2 separate regions of the Homo sapiens genome follow, and region 1 is linked to region 2. The links are contacts of gene promoters, found by promoter capture Hi-C in blood cells and fetal thymus (Javierre and others, 2016). All regions are on one chromosome and are shown on one strand. The core of a region is centred on a gene start or on the middle of the fragment in contact, and the rest is flanking DNA. Distances in the headings are between cores, read along the strand shown. Region 1 overlaps EOLA2-DT (EOLA2 divergent transcript). Region 2 holds the start of TMEM185A (transmembrane protein 185A).

Region 1 (5,446 bases), core at 559-3,058, 320 kb before region 2:
CATGTGATAAAATTGCATAGAAACACACACACACAAGTATATGTATAACTGGTAAAATCTGAATAACCTCTGTGGATTGTACCAATGTCAATTTTCTGATACTAATATTGTACCATAGTTAGGCAAGATGTTAACATTGGGGAAGGGTGAGTGAAGGGAATACAATTCTTTGCAACTTCCTTTAAATCTATAATTATTTCCAAATAAAGCTTTTAAAATTAACCATAAGAAAACAAGCAACCCAATATTTTGAATGGACGAGAATATAAACAGAAAATTTACCACAGAAGTTAGATGGATGGCAAATAAGCATGTTAAAAGATGTTCAACATTAATAATCATTAGAGAAATGCAAATTATAACCAGAAAGAGATACCACTATACACCTTAGAGTGGCAAAACAAAACAAAAACACACACAGAAAAACTAGCAGTACCAGGTGCTGGCAAGAATGTGGAACAACTGGAACTCTCAAGCCCTCCTAGTGGGAATGCAAAATGGTATAGCCACTCAGCAAAAGTTTGACAAGTTCTCAAAAAGAACTATAACCCAGCAATTTACCAAGTAACCCAGCAATCCCACTCCTATTTACTCAAAAGAAATAAAAACTATGTTCACACAAACCCTGTACACAAATGTTTATAACAATGTATCCATAATAGAGAAAAAATGGAAACAAACCAAGTATCCCTCAACTATAGGACTCATAAACAAAATGTGATACATCTATACAATGGAATATGACCCAGCAATAAAAAGCAATGAACTTCTGGACTGGGTGCAGTGGCTCACGCCTGTCATCCCAGCACTTTGGGAGGCAGAGGCAGGTGCATCACTTGAGGCCAGGAGTTCGAGACCAGCCTGGTCAACATGGCGAAACCTTGTCTCTACTAAAAATATAAAAATTAGCCAGGCGCAATGGTGCACGCCTGTAGTTCCAGCTACTTGGGAGGTTGAGGCATGAGAATCCCTTGAATGTGGGAGGCAGGGGTTGCAGTGGGCTGAGATCACACCACTGCACTCCAGCCTGGGCAAGAGAGTCAGACTATCACACACACACACAAAGGAATGAACTACTGAAAACACAACAACATAGTTAAATCTCAAAAGCATTTTGCTACCTGAAAGAAGCTACATCCAAAAGGTTACAACCATATCATTCTGTTTCTTTGATAATCTGGAAAACTATGGGAATGGAAATTAGATCAGTGGCTGCCAGGGTTGAGAATGGAGAAGGGGATGAATGCCAAGAGGCGGTACAAAGCAATTTCTGAGGTGATGGAATTGTTTGGTAACTTTAGTGATGGCATTAGGCAAAAGCCATAAAACGGTACACCACACCAGTTTGCACTGTGTAAAAAAATAAGTAAACATGCCAAAAAAGGATCCCCCTGCATACCCACCTAAGTGACAACATGTGCTGTCAAGGACGGAGAGCAAATGGAACTCACACATTGCTGGTGGTAATGTAAATTGCTACAGCCGCTTTAAAAATCTGTTTTTCAATATCTGCTAAAATTAAACATATGCATATCCCATAAATCATCAATTTTACCTCTAGACATGTACATAACAGTAATACATATTCACCAAAGAAAGTAAATCCAAGCATGTTCATAGCAGCTTTGCTTGTATTACAAAAACCTGGGAACAATTCCAGTATGTACAAATAGCAGAATGGGTAAATATATCATGGTATACTGATAAAAATGGAATAGTATATGGCAATGAGAATAAAGTATTGCTGACATGACAACATGGATGAATCTCACAAGCAATATTTAATATAAAAATCCAGACAGTAATAAGATTACGCAGTGTACGATCTCATTTATATAAAGTAATAAAAAATGTTGCAAAATAGCGATTACCTTTGGGCAGAAGTAGTGACTTGGAGGGTATTACAAAGAGGTCCTAGCGGTGTTCTATTTTGTGATTTAAGTGCTGGCTATCTTGTTAAGTTGTGAATGTTCATCAGTGCATTCACTTAATATTTGGGCATGTTTTCTGTTTGCAAATTATACTTCCATTAAAAATGTTTTAGGCCAGGCATGGTAGCTCATGCCTGTAATCTCAGCACTTTGGGAGGCTAAGGCAGGAGGATTGCTTGAGGACAGGAATTTCAGACCAGCCTGGGCAACATAGTGAGATCTCATCTTTAAAAAAAATTTTTTTTTAATTTGCTGGGTGTGCTGGTGCATGCCTGTGGTCCTAGCTACTAAGGAGGCGGAGGTGGGAGGATCACTTGAGCCCGGAAGTCAAGGCTGCAGAAAGCTATGATCACATCACTGCACTCCAGCCTGAGTGACAAAGTGAAACCCTGTTTCAAAAAAAAAGTTTAAGAACTTTTAAATGTATGCTTCATTTTCTCTTCTTTTTAAAATTTAGGCTTGCTTATATAGCCAATTGCTAAAAATCTGTAACTAAAACCAAGACTACAGTAGCTCAATGCATAGAAGTTAAAGATAGATAAGGCAATTTTGTAACCTCGCCTTTTACTTTCTGTTTGTTGGCTTTTACATTACTTCAAAATTGTTAAGGAGTAATAAATGCCTGTCCACGTCCATTCCTGTCTGGCCTAGAACATTTAAACTGTCTATAAGTCTTTTGGCTGTAAGTCTCTTGGCCATAGAGATCCTACCAAGGGACAGGATGGACCTGGGGCAGGCAGCCAAACCACCTCCACAATGCTATGGGACAAAATAAAAGTTTGTCCATTGATGTTGCCTCTGGCAAATCCTGGCCAGAAGGAAAGAATGTAAACCAAAAATAAAATTCTAAGCTCCCCAACCACCTGAATGGACCCCTCCTCTTGGCCAAGGGCATTCCAAAGTTAACCTGAAAAACTAGTTCAGGACATGATGAGGAAGGGGGAGTCGGACATGCCTCATTACCATCAACATGAACACTGTCCTTAAGACTGATACAATAGACTCTTTAAGTCTAATAAGAAACATTTACAATCTATTCTCTCTGAAGCCTGCTACCTGGAGGTTTCATCTGCATGATAAAACTGTGGTCTCCACAACTCCTTATCGTAAACCAGACATTCCCTTCTAATGATTCCAGGTCTTTAGATAATAACTCAACCAATTATTAATACCAGTCAGAAAATTTCTGAACCTGCCTATGACCTGGAAGTCCTCCAACTTCCATTTGTCCTGCTTTTCCAGACCAAACGAATGTACATCTCACATGTATCAGTTGATGTCTTATATCTCCCTAAAAACCAAACTGTGGCCTGACCACCTTGGGCATGTCACCAGGACCTTCTTAGGCAGTGTCACAGGCATGTCCTTAGCCTTGGCAAAATAAACTTCTAAATTGATTGAAAAAAATTTTTAGGTTTTCTGATAAGATTGTCTGATTCCAAGGGAGAGGTGTGAGAATTATACATGAAAGCTTTTGTTCCCAATTGGACAGAAGGATGCAAGCGACTTTTGATCACCTGCTCTACCATGAATAGTGCCACGGGCTTCACAACAACCACGAGAGGTATGTATTTTATGTCCACTTTAGAGATGAAGAAGACTCAAGAACAAGAAGATTACTAGTTTCAGTTACAAATATATGATTCCAGCATTTCTAGAATGAAAAACTCAGGAAATATCTGAGAGAGAAAGGTCTATAAAGAGCACTAAATCCAGCCCCTTTATTTTACAAACTGGGAAAATCTGTCCCAGGAGGGAAAGGGACTAGTTCAAGACTACCCAACTACTCAAAGAGAAGGAACTCAAATTTCAATCTCTTGAGTGCCACCCAGTGGACAATGTACCATGACCGATATTTACAGACAAGTTACCAAAAAACTTTACAGAATAGGGGGAAAGAGCACTCATTAAACTGGGAATTGGAAGAACTGGATCCTGTCCCAGTTTTGCCAAGTAAGGTTAGCTTCCCCTCTCTTGGCTTTAATTTCCCCATCTGTGTAATATGAAGTGACAACAGGAAAACCAACATGAGGCAGCAAGTCTTGGATCCAAGACAGAGACAGATCCAGGTTTTGTGGGGCTTGAAGCTTGTAACATCTGGGGCCTTCTTTAAGTATAAGAATGCAAAATTACCAGTATAAAATTGGGAACAAAAGCAAATATTTAAAGTGAGAAAAAAAAAACAAAAGAACACACATTTGAAAACGTTGACAAATGTTAGAAACATCTGAAAATTTAGAAAAAAATAACATAAATAGCTACTTATCTTTAGTACTTAACTGCCTCATGCACTTCTATAGTATGTTATTCCTGCTTTTCTTGTTTGTTATAGTTGGAAACACAGGATTCAGCATATAGTTATAATCACAACCAAGATTTATTACAGCAATGTAGTTAGGGCACACAGCCAGATCACAAGCAGAAAAGACAGGCAAAGTTTGGAGGAGCCCATGCACAGACTTCCTTATGCTCTCTCCCTCCCATGAGGGGCCACACAGAGCACATGCTTCTCTCGGCAACAAATATGCAGTGGCACGTGTGATGTTTCTGGCCAGAGAAGCCCAGACTCATTGCCCACACTTTACACTGGTGTTTGGTAACAGAGACTTCCTCTGCCTAGCATGCACCAAAATTCCAGACTCCCAGAAGGAAAGCAGATATTCAGCATAAACTACGTTTTCTGTATCAACAGTCAAGGCACAGTGAGCCATCTTATCAGTTAACTGTTGACTAGGGAAATTCTGAGAGTCAAGTTTCCAGATGCCAGCAGGGAGCGTAACTTCCAAGCAGGTCTTTCTAAGGGTAGCAGTCACAGGAACTATGACTGTGCCCTTTCTAGCTCAGGACACATTTGATGCTGTGACTGTTTGGGAATTCAGTCCCGACCAATTTAAGAGGTTGTGTTTCTTAGCTGTCTCTGGCTCCTGGTTTGCGCAGTTTAATTCTGTGCCTGCCCAGCAAAACTCTTCTGCATACTACTCAATGTTTCTAGTCCTTCTACAGGTCCATGTCCTACAATCACAGGAATTCTGAAAAATGCCATTTCACAAAATCCCCTTCCAAATGTGCAAATAAATGTATCTTGTATTTACAATTGCGTACACTGCACGCTGGGTATATTTCTGACAAGAGAGCACTTTTGCTTTTCAGTGAAAATGGAATCCTTCACTTACAATTTTACACATCTGATTGATGACTGGAAGATTTTTCCACAGACTAGCTTCTGGTGCTGTACATTGTGAATCTTGGTTCTCCTCCACTGCCAACATACCCCTGATGCCAAGTGCTGCAGGTCACAGTGACATTACAATGTACCCTTCAGCCTCACCCCTCTTGTCCTAACACTGGATGCATCAGCACAGTGAGCAGAAGTATTCCTGCAAGCTATTCCAATAAAGGGCAGCTGGCAAAAACTGGGAAATATATGGAATTGCCTGTGGACTCCTGAAAGATATCTCAAAAATATATCCTAAACTAAATGAATCCCAACTTAATGTCCCCTTAGTTGAATTCTC
Region 2 (5,137 bases), core at 1,299-3,798:
ATGGTCAGATATACACTGATTCTTCTGGAACACTGTAACCTAAGCCCACCCCAAAGTCACCAAGAATATGCTGTCTGGCTTATTTGGGGGTCATACTTTTTCAATCCAGAGCCATTTCTTTCCTTTGAGTGAAGAATGTTGGGAGCCCCTAGCAAGATAGCCCTGGAATTTTTTGGCAAGTCAAGGAAAAGATAAAGTCAAACTCTGCTAGTGGAGAAGATGTGGGTGTCATCTTCTCCACTAGTCATACTTAGCCTTGATGTATCACCTTTCTTCTGAGAATGTAGAAACATTTAATAAGTGGTAATTAAGCTTCCCAGCACTCCTGGTGCCTGCATATGACCCAGGGTCTTTCTTTAATGTCAGGATCACTTGTGGGTCTGTCTACACAGGTCATTGAGGCTTTGGACCTCCATCTAGGGTGGGACACTGAGTGAGGGCTCTGAAGTGAGCAGCAGGTTGTCAGTAGGGTCTTTTGCACTTGCTGGAGAGAGGACCAGATGGCCATCTGGTTTCTGGCTTTTTTTTCCCCATGAGAGCACCAGTAGCATAAAGGGTTGGGCTTCCAGAATCAGTCCAGGTAATCCACCTCTTGAAGACTGGGGATGTGAAGCCTTGGGAAAGTCCAGTTCTTCCTGTATTTCCTCACAGACAGGTTCATATGTTCCTCTTGGCAATTTACCTTGTCAGAGCAAAAGAACACACTGACAAGTAATTTGTGCATCAGTGTCCTGTTGCCTTTGCTAGATAGCTTCCAGGGCCTGGTCAACTCTGGAAGAACTGCTAAAATTGAACTTGTGGGCCTGCAGAGCAGTGGTTCAGCTCCCAGACTCCCTGGGATCTCATTAAAGTAGCGTCTGCCCTCAAGATTCTGGACTCTGAGGAGCCTGCCTGGTCTCTATCTATGAAGCTCTTGAAAGGGCAGTGATGCCTGTTATTCAAGTGTCTGAACTGGCAGACCATCTTCTCATGCCTGCTTGGGGCACGGTCACTGGTAATGAAGATGGTGCTGTCCAATCTGACCACTGGCAAGCACCTCTTTCTAACAGTATGGGCTGCAGGTTCAGCTAGACCCTGAGTTTCATCTGTGCTCCTTCACCCTTACTTGCTGGCTCGCTCAGGGCCTGTTATACAAGCTTCTCTGCGCCTTAATTCCTCGTCTGTATTTGAGTGTTCATTGAGAACCTCCTCTGGGCTACACATTGGACTTTACCCAGAGGATGGGAAAGGAAGATGGGTGAAAAAGTCTGGGACAGGGTCCTGGTGCTTCAGCAGATGAAAACTTGATTTGGATTACTCAACCTTAAAATCAGCTCATATAATAATATCCATTTCCCAGTGGGTGTTGGGAAGCTTAATTACCACTTATGATATGTTTTTACGTTCTCAGAAGAAAGGTGATACATCAAGACTAAGTATGACTATCGCAATTGTGATTCTCTCAAGCTGCCCTTGGGGCTAAACAGTATAAAATTGTCATTTGTGAAACTCTGCTATTGCAACAAAGGATGACTATTATCCATAATGATAGTAGACTAATGTTTAAGGCATTGTTGTGCTCATGAAAACTTAAATCTGCCCAAAGTGAAGATGGTAAACTAGGTCACCTGCTATGAGCTTGTCCTGCTCTTGGATTCCAAAAGCAAACAAAATCCTTGAGGAGGTTGACACCTGAAAGAGTACCAGATAGCAACAGCATTCTTTGTACACCTAGCATGTACCAGGCAGTGTGTTATGCACACGATCTCACTGAATCTTCCTAACACGCTTAGAAAAGAGGTTTTTATCATTTCCATTCTGCGGAGGAGAAAAACTGAGACTCAAAGATGTTGACTTGCCCAAGGAAGATGAACCTGGTACTTGTAAGTAGGGCAGCCTGGAGTGGAGGCAGAGGTCAGGTGTGAAGTGACCACAAAGTTTAGACAGGATCCAAGGAGGCTCTGAACTGGGTTAGAAAAATGAGGATGATTTCCACGTCTCCTGCTTGAATACCCCCCTGCGTACGAATAGGCCTGCTGCTAAGGGAAAAAGGGAACCCAGGAGGGGAAGGCGGTTGGCACGGGAAGTGACTTTGGTGCTAGGTAACTTGAGTAGGGAATAGCCAGCATATCTGGACACGCTGGCTTGGGAATTGGAAGGGAAGTTGGGACCCAAACTTTGGAGTCGTTGACAGATGTGACAGGTGAAGCCTGGGATGACATCGCCAAAAATGCAACGTCTCACTCATTGTCACTACTCCCAGGGCTCAGTCGTCACTGGGGAAAATCTCCAGAAGGTAGCGCGGGCCAAGGTGACAGGTGTCTGCCAAGATCTGCCCGCCAGACTCCCGGGCGGCGCGCTCCCTCCCTGCAGGCCTTCAGCCCGTCAGCATCCCCTTCCTCGGGGCCCTGCTCACTCCCAGCCTCCATCCCCCTGCCATCTCCTCCGCCGGTCGCGTGCGGACACAAGGATGGGGACCTCCCAGCGAGGAGCGCTCTGGGCGGGGCTCCGGACGCATGCGCGGCCCTCGTACGGAAGCCCGGAAGGAGGGGCAGGGGGCGGTGGCTCAGGTTTCTCCGGGCGGCGGCGGCGGCGGCGGCGGCGGCGGCGGCGGCGGCGGCGGCGACGGCGACGGCGACGGCAGCGGGGACGGCAGCAGTAGCGGGAGCAGCAGCGTGGACGCGGCTGGCGCTGGCGCCATGAACCCGCTGTAAGGCGCAGGCTGTGCAGCACGGGGTGCGGGGGAGGAGGAGGAGGACGCCGCGGTGAAGTTCTCCGCCATGAACCTGAGGGGCCTCTTCCAGGACTTCAACCCGAGGTGAGGCGGCGTCGTTGGCGCCCCCGGGAGTCCGCGCTGCGGGCTCGGGCGCGGGCTGGTGTTCGGCTCCGGGGAGGCACGGCGGGCGAGATGCTGCAGCCCGAGGACCCGGGCGCCTGCCCGAGCCTCCCTGCGGGTGCAAGCGGTCCCCAGGCAAAACAGTCGGCCTCGGCGCCCGCCCGCTTCCTCCTCCCGTGCCCGGTGCTTTCAGCCCCTGCCCGGCCACGGCCGGAAGGGCCCGGCCGCGAGCCCCGTCCTGCCCCAAGGGAACCCCATTCTTTTCTGCTTGCTGTCCCTCATTGGTGTCCCAACTTCTTCGTCTCGGTTCCATCCTCTTCTGCGCCGCTGCGGGCCCTCCATTCTCCGCGTCAGGGCCGTCTCACTCGACCCAACACCCCTACCCCCACCCCAGCTGTTTCCTCCAGTTCCTCGCAGTCCTTGGGGTTTTCCTTGGGTTTATGCCCATCCCTCTCTTGTTTGCTTCTTTGTTGAACGGATACCTGAAACACTGTTGAATCCTTGGAGTCAGTGTCGGGGTATGGCAATACCTTATATAATGCATTTCTGGGTGAGCCTGATCATTTTCCATACTCATTTTCTCATCAGTCTTCACTACAAGTTTATTTGCAGGAAGTAGATATTGCTGTCCTTCTTTTCCAGATGGGGAACACCCAGTGGACAGTGTGGAGAAAACACTGGCTAAGCACTCAAGCGCCTGTCCTTGCACTTGCCCGACTGTTTTGTAACTGTTCTTTACCCCAGGCTGTGAGCTCCCTGAAGCTGAGACCATCTCCTGCTCATCTCAGTGTCCCCAGCGCCTCCCACCCACCGTATCTGGCACATAGTAGGCACATATAAAATGTTTGTGGAACTAAACTGAGCCCAAAGACTTGGATTGGAGACGAGGCCATATGTAACTGGGTGATTCTCTGCCCTTCTTTGGCCCTTCTGTAAAATGAGGAGTTGGCCTAACTGATCTCTTAAATGCACTACTCTCCGAAAGGAGTATCCGTTTCCCTTATTTGCCAGTTGGGAAGACGTGCTCAGTAAATATTTGTGTGCTGTAACCTATGTTAGGTGCTTTAGATGCTGGCGGTCTCAGCATGGGGTGAAGAAGGGCTTGTACACTTAAGATGCCTTACAGTACTGTGCAGTGCTGTACTGCGGGGGCCAACTCTGGGGACCTATGCCTTGGCTGCTTGTTGAGGATGAAAGGAAGTTTTAGGGGAGTATTTGTATGTTGAGGGTGCAGTCTCCCTAGGGATGGTGACATTTTAACTTGTGAGTCATTGTGACTTTGTATGTGCTCTTATTCCACTTTGAGTTCATGTTCTGGTTAGGAGTGCCAGTGTCTCTAACACGGTGCAGACATTATCATTGTTGGCTTCGAAGGCATAGAGGAGGTAACAGAACTAACTGCAGTCCCTTCCTCTGCTGCATCAGGGGGTTAAGATTGGTCTGCAGGGTAGTAGGGTTGGTGCTGTGGCTGGACAAGCCCTGTATGTCTTCTATTTGGAGATGGTGATAAGAAAGTTAAGTAAAAACTGAATTGTTTTGTGCCCTTGGGCAACTCACTTATCTATTGTTTTATCTGTAGAATGAGTATAATCTCTCAGTGGGGTAGGGAGGCCAATTAAGGATTGATTACAAAGTGCCTTACAAATAGAAAGCTACAGTGACTTGTTTGCAAGGTGACAGAGAATTCAGAAGCCTCAAGAAACTGCCTTAAGTGATCAAACAGGCTAACGGAGTTGCCAAAGCAAAATAGTGCTGCACTGATACTACCTTTAACCGTTTTTTCCTTTAGCCCTTTTCCCCCCAAAAAAATTAGTATATGAAATTACAGTGAAATACCTGGTATCTAAGCAGATTTATAGTAATTCTCAACATATTCATCAATCTCTTAATTCTACCTGCATTAAAATGTATTTCTACCTGAAAAGTTTAAAGGTCTTTTATACTGTGCCATTTTCCTGATTCATTGTTGCCAGAGGTAGTGAGTTCCTTAATTTTACAGATATTTCAAGAGGACATTGGCCAGGTATTATTGGTAAATCAGATTTGTTTTTTTAGCTGGTAGTGTTTCACCTCTCCTGAGCACTCCTAGTTTTTGACAGTGTGCTTTAGTCTCCTTCCATGCTGAGGAAGGCCTTCTCTATAGGAGAAAGAAAACTGAGGGGTGTACACAGGAAGTTACCTTATGCTGGGGACTCAAACCTTGATGCTACTGCTTTGCTCCCTGCCTCTATTTTTGAACCAATTCAACATCTCCCTCCTACCCCAGGACCTTGTCACACACTGTTCTCTTTACCAGGAATGTTTCCCTCTCTTTTCCTCTCC

The links. The method cuts DNA at HindIII sites, captures the fragments that hold promoters and counts their contacts. A CHiCAGO score of 5 or more calls a contact.
Region 1: a contact is called between a fragment that was not itself captured here and the fragment with the promoter of TMEM185A in region 2, in 1 of 17 cell types (non-activated CD4 T cells). The highest score is 5.0, in non-activated CD4 T cells.

Annotation. Positions count from the first base shown.
Region 1 is chrX:149,949,224-149,954,669 of GRCh38, reverse strand. The region is part of intron 7 of EOLA2-DT (EOLA2 divergent transcript); the gene reads right to left. Among named protein-coding and RNA genes, the nearest start is that of EOLA2-DT, 13 kb to the right of the region's middle. The HindIII fragment of the contact is 3,193 bases long and covers 212-3,404 here.
Region 2 is chrX:149,629,203-149,634,339 of GRCh38, reverse strand. It overlaps TMEM185A (transmembrane protein 185A), which reads left to right and starts at 2,548. Exons shown (of 7, transcript NM_032508.4): 1 at 2,548-2,797. The coding sequence starts at 2,760. RefSeq lists silencers at 2,586-2,995, 3,006-3,055. The HindIII fragment of the contact is 7,464 bases long and covers 1,356-5,137 here.